Regions from separate parts of the Homo sapiens genome. Here region 1 is linked to region 2. The links are contacts of gene promoters, found by promoter capture Hi-C in blood cells and fetal thymus (Javierre and others, 2016). All regions are on one chromosome and are shown on one strand. Each heading gives the region's core, a stretch centred on a gene start or on the middle of the fragment in contact. The rest is flanking DNA. Distances are from core to core; before and after follow the strand shown. Region 1 overlaps PRICKLE1 (prickle planar cell polarity protein 1). Region 2 holds the start of YAF2 (YY1 associated factor 2).

The links. Contacts are between HindIII fragments. The CHiCAGO score rates a contact against its expected background, and 5 or more counts as called.
Region 1: a fragment that was not itself captured here is called in contact with the fragment with the promoter of YAF2 in region 2 in 1 of 17 cell types (total B cells); the score reaches 5.8 in total B cells.

What each region holds. Positions count from the first base shown.
Region 1 is chr12:42,572,366-42,577,666 of GRCh38, forward strand. All of the region lies in intron 1 of PRICKLE1 (prickle planar cell polarity protein 1), which reads right to left. Among named protein-coding and RNA genes, the nearest start is that of PRICKLE1, 15 kb to the right of the region's middle. The HindIII fragment of the contact is 160 bases long and covers 1,951-2,110 here.
Region 2 is chr12:42,235,965-42,241,049 of GRCh38, forward strand. YAF2 (YY1 associated factor 2) reads right to left here and starts at 2,284. Exons shown (of 4, transcript NM_005748.6): 1 at 2,191-2,284; 2 at 1,635-1,760. The coding sequence starts at 2,216. It overlaps LOC124902920 (a long non-coding RNA gene), which reads left to right and starts at 2,481. Exons shown (of 2, transcript XR_007063279.1): 1 at 2,481-2,763; 2 at 3,173-3,314. RefSeq lists silencers at 1,410-1,739, 1,860-1,929, 2,030-2,409, 2,460-2,699, 2,890-3,029 and an enhancer at 1,575-2,076. The HindIII fragment of the contact is 7,822 bases long and covers 960-5,085 here.

The DNA.
Region 1 (5,301 bases), core at 781-3,280, 340 kb after region 2:
TTGGAGGTTGCAGTGAGCCGAGATTGTGCCATTGCACTCCAGCCTGGGTGACAAGAGCAAAACTCTGTCTTAAATAAATAAATAAATAAATAAATAAATAAATAAATTAAAAATACTTGTTTTTAAAATAACGTGCTTATAGCCCACATTTTGAAAAACCTGAGAATGGCATAAAAAAATAAAATCAAGGCTCAAGCTTGTAATTCTAGCTCTTTGGAAGGCTGGGGTAGAAGGGTCATTTGAGTCTAGGAGTTTGTGACCAGCCTGGGCAATAAAGTGAGACCTCATCTCTACAAATATATATATATAAAATCAGCAAGGCATGGTGGCATGCCCCTGTAGTCCCAGCTACTTGGTAGGCTGAGGTAGGAGGCCTACTTGAGCCCAGGAAGTCGAGGCCGCAAGTGAGCCATGACAGCACCACTGCATTCCAGTCTGGGCAACAGAGCAAGACTCTGTCTCAAAGGAAAAAAAATTTTAATAAAATCATACCCATTCCTATTCTAACCACCAGGAAGTAAATCACTACTAACATTTTGCAAATACAAAATCTTACATAGAGTTAGTAGGTCACCCATGCAGAGCATCGAACCCAAAGCACATAGATTTCCTTAGATCCAGGCTACGGTCCTCAGTTTCTTGTATGTTTAAAAAATTTTTTTTTAAATCAGTTAATCCAGTGAGTTCCTTGGGCACTGGAGGAGTGTTTCAGCCTAAACAAACTTAGCGGTTTCTGATCGCTAATCAGACTGTACTCACTTACACTAAAACATTTAACGGCTAAATAAATAAAATGCTCTGTGGAGTAGTTGACTTGAGAAACGAGAGCAATATCTGAGGGCTGCTTTAAAATATTAGAGCAAAATAACAGAATTACTTCAATGGGCATTGCCATCAAGCCAGGACCACTACAAGATGTGCTTGCCAAATAGACCAACAGACAAGGAGAAGTCCACATGAGACAATTCTGCGCTGGGCTGCTTTAGAGGCATACTCACAAACTCCTATTTATTCTTCTCTTTATTGACTCTATGTGGCCAACTGCAATTCGGATTATACCATCAGTTCTCTTTAACTCACAGGAGTTAAGGTTTTAGCTTCTACAAAGAGGCGACTTAAACATTATTCCCAAAGATTGGCAGAGAAAGTATTTTATTCTAAGATAAAAGAAAGGAAAAGGAAAGTATGATTCTTTTTGTATTATTATTATTATTATTATTTTGGGACAGGGTCTCACTCTGTTGCCCAGGCTGGAGTGCAGTGGCAAGATTTCACTTCACTACGGCCTCCATCTCCCAGGCTCAATCAATCCTCCAATGCTGCCACACTCAGCTAGTTTTTGTATTTTTTGCAGAGGTGGGATTTTGCCATCTTGCCCAGGCTGGTCTCAAACTCCTGGGCTCAAGTGATCCACCCGCCTTGGCCTCCCAAAATGGTAGGATTAAAAGGCATGAGCCACCGCACCAGGCTGAGCAATAATTCTTTAAAATTATTATGTGTGGCAGTGTATGCATCATCATGAAGTTCTCTAACATAGCCAAGGAAGTGGTAATATTGTCTAAATTTAGGACTGAGAAGAAAAATGTACTATTATTTCTTTCTCAGCATTTGTGTAGACTTCTCCTGTCTGTGGTTTTCAAGCTGTGTTCAAGGAACCAGGAACCCCACCTGGCTGGAAGGAGAAAAGGGAGCTGAGGGATGGGGTTATGGTCACTGGCTTAGGGTTGTCAGGTTAAATACAGGATGCCCAGTAAAACCTAAATTTCAGATAGACAACCAATAATTTCTTGGGGACGTGCAATATTTCAGACACACATATACTAAAAGCTTATTCATTATTTACCTGAAATTCAAATTTAACTAGGTATCTTGTGTGTGTTTATAAATATAGCTGCCTTATGACAAACTCCTTTCCACCTCCCAACAAAAGCAATCCTACTTTCCATGCTAAGCTTCCAGATAATCTTGTGTTTGAGAAAAGCATTCAGCAACAAAAAAAAGTTTGAAAACCACTTTGCTATACAAATATGGGCAACACTCTGAACCCCACTGTCTGTGGACTTTCCATCAACAAAGCAAATTGTGTCTGGTTATTGTGAAAATTAATTAAAGCTTGTAAAGCGCTTTGAAATTGGCATGTTCAGCCACATATGCTACAAAATATTTATCACACACCAGACTGCCTGAAAACATTCTGATTGCTCAGTGAACAACTAGATGGCAGAAATTCTCAAAGATGTTAAATCACAATTTTAATATCACCATATTGAAAAATCACATATTAAAACAGACCCTTCCAACCTAAGAAGGCAGAACATTTCAACCTAAGAAGTGAGTTTACCTTCAAAAAACAAACGAATAAACATGATTTGCTTTTAAAAGTACAGTATTTATACCGTTGTGGAGGTTTTCTTCAACTGAATCATAAGTTTTGTTGTTGCTGTTTTTTTTAAGCAGGAGTTCAAAACATAACAATCAGGAAATGAAGAAAATAGTTCATCTCCTATGAGACTATTGTCTGCTATTTCTGCTTGGTAAAGCTTTTTTTTTTTTTTAAGATTAAAAAAAAGTTTTATGAAAACAAAACAGAGATACCAACACAATAAAACACATCTGGAGGCCACTTGGTGACATTCAGGCTTCTTTTTTTTTTTTCAACCATTAGCTTTCATGGAAAGCTCTTACAGTACTAAAGCAAATGTCATAAAAGCATAATATTCATTACATAATGTTGTCTAAACACTTGAGGCTGAAATTCAAACCTGGCAGTGAAACTAAAGAGTAAATAAGTTCAGATTGTAACAACATAACAATGAAAAGACACAAGTGTAAACACCTGGTAGGTTGGCCAGGTAAATGCCATATTTATGAAGGAACACAGAGAGCTGTTACTTAGAACCTTAAGGCCAGCCACAGAAAAGACAGGATTACAATAAAAGTTGTCATAATTCATATGTTATTTCTGATTTAAACTGATTTACAAAGGTGGCAATCAGTCCCTAAGAGTACAGTTAATCTTATAGCCAAATAGAAAGACGTGCAATTTGGGCCAGGCACAGTGGCTCACGCCTGTAATCCCAGCACTTTGGGAGGCCGAGGCAGGCAGATCACCTGAGGTCAGGAGTTCGAGACCAGCCTAACTAACATGGTAAAACCCATCTCTACTAAAAATACAAAAATTAGCCAGGAATGGTGGTGGGCACCTGTAATTCCAGCTACTCAGGAGGCTGAGGCAGGAGAATAGCTTAAACCTGGGAGGTGGAGGTTGCAGTGAGCCGAGATAGTGCCATTGTACTCCAGCCTGGGTGACAGAGCGAAACTCCATCTCAAAAAAAAATAAAAAAAAAAATAAAAAACTTGCAATTCACTAAGCATAACGCTTGTCTAATGTTTCCTGCCTTTGTATATACTTTTCCTTCTGCCTAAACTAGCCCATTCTGCTATTCTGATAATGACTTGGCCAAACTCCTATTTAGTCATTAAGACCTAGCTCAATAATCTCTTCCTCTTTGAAGCCTCCCTTAATAGTCCACATAGAACAAATAACTTCAGGCTTTGCCTCTGTGCTACTGCTATATCCAGCACATTTCTCTATTCCTGCCTTTACAACAACATATTGCCAGTAAGTGCTTACATGCCTTCCTCCCTTACAAAACACTGCACTCTTGAAAAACTGAACCACTCCTATGTAATGTTTGTATTCCCAGAACCTACCATAATGCCTGTCAAACCACAGGCACTCAGTAAAGGTGTGTTGAAAGGAAAACCATGCCACCAAATTGAAATAAAAATGGGAAAGCTTAACATTAAATGGTTAACATGCATTTGTAAGTGCAATTTCTCCTTACTTTTCAGAGAAGAGAAAAGAAGGCAGAGAATATGCAAAACAGCCCCCATCACTTTGAAGTGAATAAATGGTTAGGAAAAGAGGCAAAAGATGAAAGGTTCTGTAGATCCATTTAAGGAGAGAGAACAACAGAAAACACTGTGAACTGCTCCTAAAGCATCTCTGCAAAAGTGTGTCAACCATACCCTGGAGCGCTAGCCTCCAGACCAAGGGGCATATTCGACTTTATTTCTGTTCCACCCTCTAACAGTCTGCTGAGAAGGCCCACAAAGGTGTCATTAAGAAATGAAATGCCTTCCTGCAGAATTTTCACACAGTCATTACCATCTGATAGCGTTTGATCTTTGAGTCATGGCTGAAGTGACCCAGATTCAAACTGGCGATTATTAATGTCAAATTTATTAGTTCTTCCTATTGGTACAGTACTTCATAGTCACTTATGAATCTTCTGGGAGACACATCATGGCTCACTGCTGTGTTCATCTGAACAATTCAAAAACTTAATCTCAGATATAATACAGATAGTAATGCTTCCCGGTGGCTGCTTATAACTTTGGGTGCAGCCTAATTAGAATGTGAACAAGACCTGAGGTCCTAAGGATTTGCTGAAAAGTGAGTGATTTAATTAATTACAATGCTACTAAAAGGAACATCTAGGCCAGTAGGTATGGTGACATATGCCAACATGTGTTATCAAAGATTAATTATAGGAAGAGTTTCACTACATACTGCATAGTTACACCAGCATTTATCTGGGGAGTTTGGAAGATAAGAAAGTTATTAGGGTTATTGAAAATATTAGGAATGCAACTAAAATGAATGTTATGTTATTTTTATTTTCCAGCAAACCCTCTCTAAGCCTCCCAAAATTAAATCCAGTTTGGTCAATGGGCACGCACATTTTAAACACAGTTTTAATCACTGTGTGTCAACAAGTGAACATGCTAATTTGAGTACTACTTTAAAAATTGTCCACATTTCCCATGTATAAACATAATAATCACATTTGTAATTTTTAGCATAAACATAAGTATGCCACTATTGTAACAACATTCAATTAATAATTTGCTCTGTAATATCACTGCATTTTTTTTTTTTAGCTGTCACATTGAACTCTAAGGTAAACTATAAACCAGACTTTTGATCAGGGGAAGTGTATATTCTGTTAGGCCCTCAGGCCTTTAAAACATAGCTATTGTTGAATTTTAACTGGCCACACTGAATAATAAATAAGGCTATAAGTTGCACCTGGCTCATATGAATACTTTTGAAATAGACTGTTAAAAAAATTCTAATTTGGGATTTGGGTGGTGAGAATGATGAGACTAATAATAACACTACCAGCTCACATTTGTTATTTATTATCTATCCCCCTGAAGTTATGGCCTCCACATTTTTAGAGTCAAGTAAATTTTGAGCTTAAAAAATCATCAGCCTCTCCTCACTTTACAACT
Region 2 (5,085 bases), core at 1,034-3,533:
TAGGACACCAGCTTCCCCCCTTCCTTGCTGTCCCTGCAAATAAACATATAGGCTCTTCTAGTTTCAGTATTTTTCTAATGGCTACAAGAAAATAGAGAGGGAACAACAAAAAGCAATAATATATAGTACCAGAGATCAAGATTATAATTGTTTCCACTTTAATGTTCCTGCCTCCAAAAAACGAATTTTCTAAAAATTGCTTATTGAGCATTTTAAAAAGCACAAAGTACTAACACAGATACACAAATATACTCTAAACCAACTCCAACCTTACACAGCCAAGAAGATACTCTGCTTTTCAAAATACTTAAATCACAAATCACGGGTCCAAAAATAGTAACCACAATCATTTTAGCAAATACTTTTTTTCTTTTTGGAATGTTCTGTTGTAATCCCTTAAATTTAGCATACGTTTGAAAGTTTGCTTTTTGAATATGAAAAATGTACGAAATATTTTATCAATTGTGGGAATATACAAAAAGCATATGATGATTTACAAAAAACAAGCATGTCAAAACCAGCGAGCTTCACTGAGAAATTTTTCAGATAAGTTACTGTCAACCATTCCTGTCTCTAAATTTTAAACTTAATAAAATTCTGTAAAGTGTTTTTTAAAAAATCAAGATCTCATTTTTTAGAAATCTAACGTCTACTGAATATTTGTATATGTCAATATTACATGTGCCTTCTTTTTTAAAGCAACAGTAAGATTAGTATGCTTATTGTTATAGTTTAGTTTCTAATGGACTTTGTAATATCAAAATACATATCTTCTCTAAATATTAAGTAATAAATCACAGGATTATATTTAATTCAAAGGGTACCTTCGTATAAGAATCAAGGAGCTCGATAACTAAGTGCTGACAGATTAAGAATGCCACTGACTGAATTTCCTGGATGATTTTCTTTATTCACTTAATTCAAAGTCATTTTTTAAAAGACAGAGTTATTATACTGCAAGCTTACAATAAATAAAGTCTGAAAATAGGCAGAGATCTTTTCATCTCATTTGTCTAAGAGACTGCCATTTAATCAAACTAAAGATATAAAGGTACTTTCAGTAAAAATCTGTTCCTGTGACTGGGCTCATCTCCAACTACTTATTTATAAAATATTAGAGTACTGGAATAAAAACACTAAATAAAACCTTGATCTGACCCTTCCAGAAGTACATGTAGAAAAATAAGTTTTAATATATTGTGTATTCTGCAATCAGATACTTTTCTTTCTTTAGGAACGAAATTAAATTACATCCTTTGCTCCTAAAGAGATTTTATGGGTTTTCCTTGATCCCCACACACTAACACAACAATGCAGCCAACATTTTTATACCCAGAATGGGGAGAGGGGCATTACACCCAGCGATACGAATTAAATCGCAGTAGCTAATGCCTCCCTTAAATAATTTATTCTCTCTTGGCAGCAAAAAACGTTACAGCCTCTTCAATTACCCCTCACCGCAAACCATCGCCTGGGTTGCGATCAATGTGACCCAGTTCCTATCGCCACAGCCACCTCCGTCTGCCTCCTCCCGCCGGGTCCGCCAGTGTCATGGGAGGGGGCGGCAGCCGCAAGGGCGTCCTCTGGTCGCCACCCCGCCGGCCGGCGGCGCGAGGGGCAGGCCCGGGACTCACCGGGTGGAGGTGCCCTTCCGCACATCGCACATCATGCACTTGAAGGCCTCGGCGCTGTTCCGGAAGGTGCAGACGCTACAGTCCCAGTAACCCTCATCCGAGGACGGCTTCGGCTGCCGCTTCGGCCTGCAGGACACAACCCGGACACGACGCGGCGCGGGGTCACCAGCAGGCCGCGCCCGGTGCCCGGGCCCCGCGGCCGCCCCCGCCCCGCCCCCCGCCCCAATTCTGCGACCCCCGCCCCGCGGGCCCTCGGCGCGCCGCGCTCCGGCTGAGGGGGAAGGGAGTCAGGAAGAGGCAGGGCGCGAGCGCGGCCGCAGTCGCCGCCGCCACAGCCGCTCTGACACCCGGGCGGCCGCTCCGGTCGCCGCCGCCATCGCGGCTCCATTGTGGGGCGGCCGGCGCCGGCCCCCTCAAGCGGCAGCACTCGCACACCAGCGGCGCTGCCCCCGTGCTCGCCCCGGTGCCCGGGCGGCTAGCGAGGCGGCCACCCGAAGCCCTGCACGAGGGCCCTGCCGCCCGCACAGTCCGGGCCCCGGGGCCCGGGCGCTGTTACCTGGTGGGGCTCTTCTTGTCTCCCATGGCTTGGCTATCACCGCACGCCGAGAGTCGCCGCCGCGACCGCTCTGTTTGTCAATAAGGAGGATAATAAGCCGGGCGGAAGCGGGCGGGGGAGGAGGGAGGGAGGGGGCGGGGAAGGCCGCACCGCCGCGCTCGGGAGCCGCCGCCGGATCCCACGCAGCCTCCAGCTGTCGGGGAAACTCCTGCCTGGGCGCACGTGACCCTCGCCGGCCAACCAGCAGCCGCGCCGGAGACTTCAAACGCGGCCAGCGCGGCCCAGCACCCGCGGCGAGTTAGCCGGCGGGCGGTGCGGGGGTGGCCGCGGTGGCCGCGGCTGCCTCGGGCGCCGGCGCCGCCTCTCCGCGCTGTTCCCCCGTTGCCCCCTTGGTACCCCCGGCTGCCGGGGACTGCCTCGCGCTCCAGAGCCCCTCTGAGGAGGAAAACGTCTGTCCCACCGACTGGCAGGGGATGCTCCGTCATCCCGTGCGAAGCCTGGTCCAAGGTAGGGCCGGCCGGCGTTCGGAGGCCTGTCCAGGTCTGGACAGAAGTGCCAGCCCGGGATCTCCAGGTAGAACGACTTTCCTGGCCTCCGCTGTCCTTAGCTACCCAGCCCCCGCCTGCAGTATACCGGGGGGAAGGCGGGAACCAACACGCAGCGCCATTGCTACATGCCTTAAAGCACTGTCTGGTTTATGCACACAGATGCTCTAACAAGTAGGGATTGTCAACCCTAACTTAGAGGAATTGAAATCAAGACTCAAGAGAGATTAGGTGACTTCCTCTAGGCTATATAATTAGAAAATGACAAAGCCAAGAGTCTAACTCTGTTTTAATTCCAAACGCGCCCTTTTGGCCTCTCAGGCCTCTGCAGTAGCTGCTTTTGAAAGAAACCCCTATATACTCATAAGTCCTTTTTAAATATAAGGAGTTTGCATGTCCCCTCAACGCTGTCTGCTAACAAAAGAACACCTTCCCAGGTCTCTACGTCAACATACTAAAGGTCCTCATACTCCAGACTCCAGCAACAGCCATCTAACTGGTCTCCGAAGCTCCACTTCTACCTCCCCAATGTATTCAGTAATCCACAACCAGATTAATAATAAAATGCTGTTAATACTATGCCACCACTCTGATAAAGAACCACTAACGACTTGCCCACACTCCTTAGCCTGGCATTCAAAGGCTTCACACATTTTCCCTACCTCTGCCTCCCTCTCCCATAAGGAAAGCTGCCTCCTGACAAAGAGTGCAGATGAAATTCATTCCCTTACCAGAACCCTTCCTTCATGCACATGGGTTACTTCTGCATAAAGTATATCCCTCTTTAACTGTGCTGTTTCTGTCCATCTTTCTAGGTTTACATCAAGTCCGAATTCATGTAAAATAATTTTATAGCTAAACTACATAGGAAATAATACAGTCAGAAGCCCAGGATTCTCAGCCTGCTTCTCCTGTTTCTTAGCTGATAGACCTTGGAAGTATTGCTTAATTTCTGTAATTCTCAACGTTTTCATATTCTGAATTGCATCTATATGAGATTGTTGTGCGATTAATAATAACATTTTTTGGCCGGTTGCGGTCGCTCACGCATGTAATCCCAGCACTTTGGGAGGCCGAGGCGGGCGGATCACCTGAGGTCAGGAGTTCACAAGACCAGCCTGGCCAACGTGGCGAAACCCCATCTCTATTAAAAAATACAAAAATTAGCCAGCTGTGGTGGCGGGCGCCTGTAATCTCAGCTACTCGGGAGGCTGAGGTAGGAGAATCGCTGGAATCCGAGAGTGAGAGGTTGCTGTGAGCCGAGATCGTGCCACTGCACTCGAGCTTGGGCGACAGAGCGAGACTCCGCCTCTAAGTAAATAAATAAATAACATTTTTTTGAGCACTATGTGCCAGGCACTTTGTAAATCCCTGCGCATAGATGCATATTTTAAAGGACTCAAAGTACTATGCACATGGCCTCATCGACTGCAGATGCTCTTCGATTTAGAAAGGGGATACTTCCCGATAAATCCACCTTAAATAGAAAATATTGTAAATTGAAAATGCATTTGGTACACCGATAAATCCATCGTAAAGTAGAAAAATCGTAAGTCGAGCCATTGTAAATCCGTAGTCTAGCCCTTCTTTTTAAAGACAAGGCAATTAGGGCCCAGGTTAAATGGTTTTTCTTTGATGAGCAGGCCAGGGTTAGAGCTCAGGTATCCTATTGGTCTTTCACCGCATCTTCTTTCTGATTAACCAAATCACTCCATTTACATAGCAGTCTCTAAACTCGTTGTACCATCTGTACTTTTTGCAAATGTAGCTTCTCATGATTCAGACCCAAATTCGGAAACCAGGAACCATGAGGAGTATGATTGAGGCACGTATACAAGAGAACCAGATTTAAGGCCTAGTCTTTAACCTCTCAGTAATGCAGTGGGTAAACTCAGCTAAGTTTTTTTCATATGTAAAATAAAGGAGTTAAAACTATTATCACAACTAAGGTCCCTTGCAAGTCTAAGGCATTGTGATGTTTTTAAATGCCTCAACTGGATGGATCCTCAAATAGACTGACAAGAACTGCTCTACTTGCAAAAGTGATGGCAACAATGTATTTTTAAATAAAAAGGAAACTAAATCAAGCACTCTAAAAATCCCCCATGCTGCAAATCACCATTTCACTAGATTGTAACCTCCCTCACTAAAAAGTAAGCCGCACCTCTGAATCATGAACAAAAAGCACAATAACTTTTGTTGCCTTTATTGCTGCATCTCCAGCCCCTAGAACAGTGTGACACATAGTGGGCACTCAATAAATATTCTGAGAATAAATACATCCACTTATAGTCAGGTTAGCGCGCGCCTGTATTCCCAGCTACTTGGGAGGCTGAGGCAGGAAGATAAC